Linked DNA regions of Homo sapiens: region 2 is linked to region 1. Evidence: promoter capture Hi-C in human tissues and cell types (Jung and others, 2019). All regions are on one chromosome and are shown on one strand. Each heading gives the region's core, a stretch centred on a gene start or on the middle of the fragment in contact. The rest is flanking DNA. Distances are from core to core; before and after follow the strand shown. Region 1 holds the start of DNAJC30 (DnaJ heat shock protein family (Hsp40) member C30). Region 2 overlaps EIF4H (eukaryotic translation initiation factor 4H).

Evidence for each region. The method cuts DNA at HindIII sites, captures the fragments that hold promoters and counts their contacts. A contact is called where the count stands out against the background at its distance.
Region 2: a contact is called between a fragment that was not itself captured here and the fragment with the promoter of DNAJC30 in region 1, in 1 of the 25 tissues and cell types used here (dorsolateral prefrontal cortex).

What each region holds. Positions count from the first base shown.
Region 1 is chr7:73,681,632-73,686,184 of GRCh38, forward strand. DNAJC30 (DnaJ heat shock protein family (Hsp40) member C30) reads right to left here and starts at 1,822. Exons shown (of 1, transcript NM_032317.3): 1 at 1-1,822. The coding sequence starts at 1,792. The coding sequence ends at 1,112. BUD23 (BUD23 rRNA methyltransferase and ribosome maturation factor) reads left to right here and starts at 1,966. Exons shown (of 12, transcript NM_017528.5): 1 at 1,966-2,042; 2 at 2,136-2,173. The coding sequence starts at 1,995. RefSeq lists enhancers at 1,244-1,333, 1,574-1,743, 2,674-3,523, 3,524-4,373. The HindIII fragment of the contact is 30,091 bases long and covers 1-4,553 here.
Region 2 is chr7:74,182,129-74,187,045 of GRCh38, forward strand. The region is part of intron 1 of EIF4H (eukaryotic translation initiation factor 4H); the gene reads left to right. Among named protein-coding and RNA genes, the nearest start is that of MIR590, 6.6 kb to the right of the region's middle. The HindIII fragment of the contact is 4,931 bases long and covers 1-3,913 here.

The sequences.
Region 1 (4,553 bases), core at 572-3,071:
ATTATGCTGTAATCCCTGTGGATTAGAACTATGGATAATAGGGCCGGGAGCAGTGGCTCATGCCTGCAATCCCAGCACTTTGGGAGGCTGGACGGGCAGACAGCCTGAGGTCGGCAGTTCGAGACCTCAGTCTGGCCAGCATGGTGAAACCCCGTATCTACTAAAAATACAAAACACTAGCCAGGTGTGGTGGGAGCCTGTAATCCCAGTTACACAGGAGGCTGAGGCAGGAGAATCGCTTGAACCCGGGAGGTGGAGGTTGCAGTGAGCTAAGATCGCACCACTGCACTCCAGCCTGGGCAACAGAGCGCAAGACTCCATCTCAAAAACAAAACAAAACAAAAAACCCCCCAAAAACTATGGATAATAAAGCATGACAGACCTCAAGATGCCAAATGATTTTCTCCTCTGCTGTCATGCCTACAGAGTAACTTCTCCAAGGTCACACATTAAATATGGGCACAGGAACACTCATTCCTTATGCTCAATGACTTTTTCTCACTCCTACATGCTATCAACATAAGGAGGAGTGCCCCAGGGGGCTGACCTTAGCGGGAGGAACGACAGGCTCTCCACCGATCCCATTCTTACCCTGGACCAGGTCTCACCTGCGGCTTGGGGAAGTCACAGAAAGACAAGTTTCGTACAACCCCAGACCTTTTCTTTTGGTAGTCAACAATTGGTCACATTGCACATTTCAAGGTTACAGAGGCCCACCATACACATGCGGGGCAGGAGGAGATAAATCTTGCTTGGGGCTAAACAATAAAGCTACAGCGAGTGTTCCAGAAGTTGACCACATCTGGAAGCAAGAAGACAGACTCTGGAAGAAGCACCCTAGAGACTCCAGGAACCCCCTTCACTCCTGGGCTTTCGGGACTCTACAGCGTGGGGCCTCTTTCTCAGACATCGAAAGGCCTCCTTTTCTGGACCACAGTGGAGCGATGTGCAGGTCATCGGCTAAGCTGGGCGGGTCGGGGAGGGCAGGGGGAGTACAGTTCCTTCGGATCCCAGCAAAGGTAGACTATCAATGGCCAAGGGTTCAGAGGCAGGAAAAAAGGCCGTTTCTGGGGGGTTGGCTGGGGACACTCCCCTTCCCTTCTCTCTCCGATTAAATATAAAAGCCGATGATGATGAAGATTGAAAAGATGAGGAAAATGGCAGCCGTGTCTCGGGTATCCTCCCAGCGGAGGCCTTTCATGGACCGATACTCCTGCCGTTTGCGAAGGGCCTCCCGCCGGGCCCTCAGGCGCCGTTCCCGCTCCAGTTGTTCCCCGTAGTGGGCCTGGTAGAAGGCGTCAAAGTTGAACATCGTGCGGTTGGCGCCGGGGGAGGCCCGAGAACCGTCGTGGGTCCGAGAGGTGGGCGGCGGGGTACGCGGCGAGCCGGGGTCGGGTGCGGGCGTCCTGGAGGGCCGGACGCCAGGTCCGCGCAGGTCCTCGTCGCTGAGTAGGCCGCGATCATACTTGCGACGGAGGGTGGCACTGCCCAGCACCACGTAGGCCTGGGAGATGCGCGTGAAGCGCTCGGCGGCCTCCGCGCTCCCGGAGTTGCGGTCCGGGTGGTAGAGAAAGCACTGACGGTAGTAAGCCGCCTTGATTTGGGCCTGCGTGGCTGTGGAGGGGACGCCGAGCAGATCATACAGCGCCGTGCGCGAATACGAGCAGTCGCCCTGGGAATAAGTCCTCGCTCCTAGGCCCAGGCTGGGTGCAGAATTTTGTGGAAAGCCACGGGCCTGCAGCAACCTCCAAGGTAACAGCCGCTGCCACCATCGCCAGCGCATGGCTGCCATGTTGAATTGATTCGGCAGGCGGTGCAAGAGAAACCGGCCAATGAGAGGAGTCGGTTGGTCGCCCTGTGGCCAGTCACGTAAAGGGGGGGGCGGGGCGGTCGTGGGGGTGGAACATGCGTATTACTAAGCGGTCGCCGGGCTGATGACATAAAAACCGGGTGCCGGCAGGCGCCAGTCGCAGGTGTGCTGCTGAGGCGTGAGAATGGCGTCCCGCGGCCGGCGTCCGGAGCATGGCGGACCCCCAGAGCTGGTAAGTCCCGGGGCCCGCGGACACCCCTCTCCCCACTTCTGCGGCCACCGCGTCTGAATTATTCCTCTACATGCCATTTTCTCTTTTTCGCAGTTTTATGACGAGACAGAAGCCCGGAAATACGTTCGCAAGTGAGGGGAGCCTGAATACTGCGGGGCGTCCGGGGGTCGGGAAGCGGCAAGTTGCCCCTGTTGCTGGCGTTGCCCGGAAAGGCCGTAGAATTTGGGGGTGCGGGAAGGGAAGGACCCGGGTGGGTGCCGATTTCTGTCTCTGGTAAATCAACTTTAAGTTGCCGACCTCTCTGGGCCTCGGTACCTCAGCGTTGAGGTAGGGGTGATCGCGCTTGCTTTCCGTGGGTGGTTTTCAAAGTCGAATGTGACAATTTGTCCTAAACATGTGGTAAAAGAGGCGCTGGGCGGTGGGTACGGGCGAGGGGTCAGTCCTGGTGGGGGGAAGGAAGTAATGGCCGTAGGATGCTTATCGTGGCGCCTTGTTGCCAATAAATCTCCAAGACAGCAGTTGGTGTATTATTGTCTGAATTTCATAGAGGGTAGTTTGTATAACTACTGAGTTGTAGCCAGGTGGGAGTGGCTCACGCGTGTAATCTCAGCAATCGCAGCACTTTGGGAGGCTGAGGCGGGAGGATCGCTTGAGCTCAGGGGTTCGAGACCAGCCTGGGCAACGTAGCGAGCCCCCGTCTCCGCAAGTAATAAAAAAATTAGCCGGGTGTGGTGGCTCCCCTCTGCCTCTCCAGTAGTTGGGACCACAGGCGCGCGCCACTACGCCTGGCTTTTTTTTGTAAATTTTTGTTGCGATGGGGTCTCGCTGTGTTGCCCAAGGTGGCCCAAGCCCAGGGCTCAAGCGATCCTCCCGCCTTCGTCTCCCGAACTGTTGGGATTGCAGGCGTGAGCCAGCGCACCTCGAGTCGTTAAAAAAAAAAAAAAGGGGGGGGGATGGGGGCGGGGGGAAGCTGGCGCGGTGTCTCACGCCTGTAATCGCAACACTTTGGGAGGCTGAGGCAGACGGATCACCTGAGGTCAGGAGTTCGAGACCAGCCTGGCCAACATGGCGAAACTCCAGCTCTACTAAAAATGGAAAAAATTAGCCGGGCGCGATGGCGGGTTTCTGTAACCCCAGCTACTCGGGAGGCTGAGGCAGGAGAATAGCTTGAACCCGGGAGGGGGAGGTTGCAGTGAGCCGACATCACGGCACTGCACTCCAGCCTGGGCGACAGAGCAAGACTTTGTTTCAAAAAAAAAAAAAAAAAAAAAAAAAAAAAAAAAAAAGATACTTTGTGGTTTTTCCGTGCTCTCTCACTGAGAGACTAGCCCTATTTCAGTAAATGGTTACTGGCCGGGCGCTATGGCTCATACCAGTAATCCCAGCCCTGTGGGAGGCGGAGGTGGACGGATCACCTGAGGTCAGGAATTCCGAGACCAACCTGGCCAGCATGGTGAAATCCCGTCTCTACTGAAAATACAGATATTAGCCGGGCCTACGGGAGGCTGAGGCAGGAGAATCACTTGAACCTGAGAGGCAGAGGTTGCAGTGAGCTGCGATCGCACCACTGCACTCCAGCCTTGGCGACAGAGTGAGACCCTGACTCAATAAATAAATAAATAGCTATTGGATACTGTTTCTTTTTTTTAGGGACAGGGTCTCTCTATTGCCCAGGCTGGAGTGCCATGGCATGATCCCTGCCGACTGCAGCCTCAAGCCATCCTCCCCAGCAGCCGGAACTAGAGGCACTCGCCACCACACCGGCTGAAATAGCTTGATAATTTTTTGTGCGTGTGAGACAGGCTCTCATTCTATCGCCCAGGCCGAAGTGCTGCAGTGGCTGCAACCTCGCCTCCCGGGTAGTTGGAACTACAGGCGCGCCTCCTCGCGCCCGACTAGTTTGTGTAATTTTTTTGTGGAGAGGGAGTTTTGCTATGTTGCCCAGGGATCTGGTAAGTTGCTCACGGGATCCACCCGCCTTGGCCTCCCAAAGTACTGGGATTATAGGCGTGAGCCACCAGGCCCGGTCCTTGCTGATGACTTTTTATGTCGATTATATGTTGAAGTGATATTTTGAACATATTGAGTTAATGGAAATACGTTATTAAATATATGGGGTTAAAAATATGACTCCAGAGGCCGGGCGCGGTGGCTCACGCCTGTAATCCCAGCACTTTGGGAGGCCGAGGCTGGCGGATCACAAGGTCAGGAGATAGAGAAATCCTGGCTAACATGGTGAAACCCCGTCTCTACTGAAAATGCAAAAAAAAAAATTAGCCGGGCGTGGCGGCGGGCGCCTGTAGTCCCAGCTGCTGGGGAAGCTGAGGCAGGAGAATGGCATTAACCCGGGAGGCGGAGCTTGCAGTGAGCCGAGATCGCGCCACTGCACTCCAGCCTGGGCGACAACAGAGCAAGACTCCGTCTCAAAAAAAAAAAAAAATATGACTCCAGTTTCTTTTACCTGTTTCTTTAAGTTTCTTCTTGACTGGCTATTGGGAAGCCATGCGTGGC
Region 2 (4,917 bases), core at 198-2,697, 500 kb after region 1:
ATGACTTTGTATAGTTGGATTGTTTGAATATGCAAAACATTACAGAAAAATGTAGAAAATTTAGAACACGAACCAAAGCATAATATAGTGACCTGTATACCCATTACCTACTCTTTAAGTGACCACTCTTCTCTATACTACTATGGTTTATAATAGGTAGTATAAATGGTATTTATCAAAGGCTTGACCTTTGAAAGCTTAACCATTTTTGATGATTGTCAAAAACCCAAATGTTACCTGTTTGTAGATATGGGGTTTTGCCGTGTTCCCCACGCTGGTCTCAAACTCCTGAGCTCAAGTGATCTCCCCACCTTGGCCTCCCGAAGTGCCGGGATTGCAGGTGTGAGCCATGGCGTCCGGCCAGTCATTTTCTTTGGTTTACACTACTTTACCCTTCTGGGCCCTACTTTCCCCAAATGAGAGCTAGAAACTCCTCTGTTGGGAGGTTTAAATGAGATGTGTCTCATAATTTGGAGGCATAGTCTTGCCCTGTTGCCCAGGCTGGAGTGCAGTTGCACAATCACAGTCCCAAAGTGCTGGGACTACAGGCCGGAGCCACATGCCCATGCCCAGCCTTGAGCACTCAACTTTCTGTTGCATCTACTTACTGGATACATCCCTACCCTCATAACATCTACTCTGTACATTGGCTTCTTTTTATAGTTACCCTCTCTCAGTCTCCTTTGACACCTACAGATCTTTTCTGGCTCACCCTAAGGGTTCAGTATTGGCCCCATCTGCCATCTGGAAGTGGAGTCCCACTTCTGTTGCTCTCTGCTGTGCTGCATATCCTGGCTCCCAACTGCTCCACCCTGGTGAAACTGTTCTCATTGCTATCTTCCAGATTTTCTGCAGTCCTTTGCTTGTGACGTGATTTCTCCTTTCCAAATTATCAGCTCCTTGAGGGCAGAAACCGAGTCTTAGGTTTGTGCCTTCTCTACATTCTCTCCACCCTTCATAGACATGCAGATACGTGGTTGATTTGAGTAAGGAAAAGTGATTTGCCTGTCAAGGATTTTAGTCACACTTGGAGCCGAAAGTAGGGTTTCCTAAATTACTGAGGCTGTAATTGACTACTTTAATCTTTCATAATCAATAGACTGTCCCTAATGGGCAGTAGAAAGGACACTGCTCAGTAGTGGCAGGGAGTTTGCAGCACAGACCTTGACTTCAGGTGTCCTGAATTGGCACGCTCTGCTGATCTGTTCCTGTTCTACACGCACTCCTGCCAGCCCAGTGTAGCCTCAGGCCTGTTGGGTCTACCCAGGAGCATGGCAGAATTATATAGCACTTGGTACTTAGGAAATGTTTTTATGGTCAGTTTTAAACTTATAAAATCAAGATTGAAATATAACAGACAAGAAAACATAGGTACAGAGGTAATTTGGCAGAGGTCCTACATCAAGCTAGCTAAGGTGTCAAGTGAACCTGTTCTCCCATGTGTTGTTATTGATCTGTGTAGGAATGTACTGAATTTCACGAAACACAGCTTATTTATTTAGGTAGTAGTCCCCCAAACTTGAATCTAGTGAAAGGTGGCAGACATTTTAGCTCAGAGTTTTCTGACATTTGATTTTGTAAATGAATCGGTGGGTAACAGATCTGTGTCATCCTATGTGATGTGATGTGATGTCATCCTATGTGATGTGTACTCTGGGGTACTCACATCCTATGTGATGTGTCTCAAGTGACTGTCACACAGTGGACACTTTACCAGTGCTAGCTTGAATGAGGTCTACCTCCATGGCCCAGCCCTGCTGCCCCCTAGTGATTTCATTGAATGGGATGAAAAGGTAAAAAGTGCTTAAGACCTGTAGAAGGGACTACATCAGGTAGGGTATGGGAATATTTAGGACTACTTTGGTAATTATTGAAAAGTCTAGAGTATTAAGCCACTGGTGGTTTTGTGAGGCACGAGTGAGTTGAACAGTTTGGTGGGCTTTGGTGTATCTTTGCTCCAGAATTATATCACCAGTTAGCTGTTAGGTGCTGCCATTTGGTAACGTGCCAACTTTTCAAAAATGGTTTGCCCCAAACTAGATTTTTCTATCTTCTCCAAAGCCAGAGCCACCTTCCTGTCCTAGTGCATTTTTAGCAGTGCCCCGTCATCTTACTGGCATTCACCTGGGCTTCCTGTGCTCAATCAGGGGTCAAGTCTGGCCTGATCTCAGTTCCACAGTTCCTCTACTCTGTAAGTTCGAGCACAATTAGCAAGCCTTCGCACCTCCATTTTCCTTACTTAGCAACTACATCAAACACCCGAGAGTTTATCATCTCTCTTCATCCTCACCCTCCTTTTTAGTTTTTATGTATATGTTACACATTCATACACACAAACATACCTGCATATATACATGTGTTTTATACGTCCCACACAACTGTGAGCTGCTTACATACAAGACAGTCTTTTAACATCATTACGCATCACTAGATGTTTAATGTTGAGTAATGAATTTAAACTGTTTTTAACATTGACCCTCCATTTTTATGGTTTTCCACATGTTTATACTGTATCTTGTTTTTTGTTTGTTTGGTTTTGTTGTTGTTTTTTGTGCTTTTTTGTTTGTTTTTTGTGTTTTTTTGTTTTTGTTTTTTTGAGATGGAGTCTCGCTCTGTAGCCCAGGCTGAAGCGCAGTGACACAGTCTCAGCTCACTGCAAGCTCCACCTCAGCCTCTGAAGTAGCTGGGATTACAAGTGTGTGCTACCACACCTGGCTAGTTTTTGTATTTTTAGTAGAGACGGAGTTTTACCATGTTGGCCAGGCTGGTCTTGAACTTCTGGCCTCAAGTGATCCACCCACCTTGACCTCCCGAAGTGCTGGGATTACAGGTATGAGCCACTGTGCCCCGCCTTTTTGTTGTTGTTGTTGTTTCTTCAGTTGGAGACAGTCTCCTTCTGTCACCCAGGCTGGAGTGCAGTGGTGCCATCACAGTTCACTGCAGCAACAACCTCCTGGGCTCAGGTGATCCTCCCACCTCAGCCTCCCAGGTAGCTTGGGACTACAAGTGTGGACCATCACTCCCGGCTAATTTTTTGTATTTTTTATAGAGATGGGGTCTTACTGTGTTGCCCAGGCTGGTCTTGAACTCCTGGCTTTAAGTGATCCTCCCGCCTCAGCCTCCCAAACTGTTGGGATTACAGGCATGAGCCACTGGGCCCGGCTTTATACTGTAACTCATATATTTATTATCCCGTCCTAAATAGTATCTTACTGAAAATATTTTAGGATTTATGATTTCGGAGATATCAGCGATAGAGTACTATTGGCAAAGGTTATTGAAATGCAAAGTAAGTCACATTTACTAGGCCCGAAAAGATGGGAGAAGTGGGCAGGTAGGATGCAATTCACTTGTAAACCTATTTTCTGGTGGTCTTAGAACAGAACGTGGAACTTCCTATTGGAAAGTACCGGAATTGTGAATTATGAAACTTAAAAGCTTTTTTTTTTTTAACCATCAAAGAATCATCACAGCTTGGTTGACCCTTCTACTTTAGAAAAATGCTTTAATGAATAATATTTGTCTGCAAGACACCTGGAATTTATCTTCAGGAAGAAGTGGAATTTCCATTGTGTTTCTGGCAGTATGTAGATGAAAGACCAGGTTGCTCTCTAAGATGGATATTAATATTTCCCCTGCAAAGAGGGTGACTTTGGGCAGGTCTTGGGTTGTTGTGAAGGATCTCATTTATTTGAACGCATTTCCCGTTTAGAAAAAAAAACTGCAGTTGGCTGCCAGCACGGTATTCTTGGAGCAAACAGGAAATGGGTTAAATGTCTGTTTCAAAAAAAAATCACCCCCTTAATTTTTTTTTCCTCCTGAGTTTTCCAAACGTTTTATTTTGGAAATTTTCAAATCTACAATAAGGTTGAAATAATGGTACAGTTGGATGACGCTAGTGGATGCAGAAGTGACTATTCTGCCTTGTTTGCTGAATCCTTGCTGTATACCGGCACACATGCCCTTTATGCTGACCTGCTTGAAAACAAATGTTGGCCATCTTGGCACTTCACTTCTAACGACTTTAAGTCGTTCCTGGGGCATTCTTATGGCAAATATCGTTTAATATAATAATCTATTTATACTATATTCTGATGTCTTTTTTTTTTTTTTGAGATGGACTCTCGCTCTGTCGCCCAGGCTGGAGTGCAATGGGCTCACTACAACCTCCACCTCCTGGGTTCAAGCGATTCTCCTGCCTCAGCCTGCCCAGCAGCTGGGATTACAGGCATGCACCACCACACCAAGCTAATTTTGTATTTTTAGTAGAGACAGGGTTTTACCACATTGGTCAGGCTGATCTTGAACTCCTGACCTCAAGTGATCCACCCACCTCGGCCTCCCAAAATGCTGTATTAGGATTAACTCAGTTTTACAAATAAAATAAAGCTTAGAGAAGTTGAATAACTTCTCAAGGTCATATGCTAGTAAGTGACAGAGGCTAGATTTAAACCAATACCTATGCAGAGTAAACGACGCTTGATACAGCTGAGGAGATGACATCGAGGTTGAAATGGATTGGTAATGCACGCCATACGCATGTATTTGAGGACCCTGTGAAGTATTGCACGAGAGTGTTAGGTACGTCAGTACTTGCTGTGTGACATCTAAAATTTTTATTAGGACATTCTTATGCCCATAATCAGGCAACAAGGAGAAATTTTTTTTTTTTTTTTTTTTTTTTTTTTTTTTTTTTTTTTTTTTTTTTTTTTGAGACGGAGTCTCTGTCGCGTGAGCTGAAGTGCAGTGGTGCGATCTTGGCTCACTGCAGCCTCCGCTTCCCAGGTTCAAGCGGTAGGAGAAATAATTCTATTATGTATGAATGTGTTAAACGTAAACAACTTCAGTAATCCTTCTTCTGAATACAACATTACTTCTAGACTGTCCATTTCTGTATTTCTTAGAACCACGGTGTGT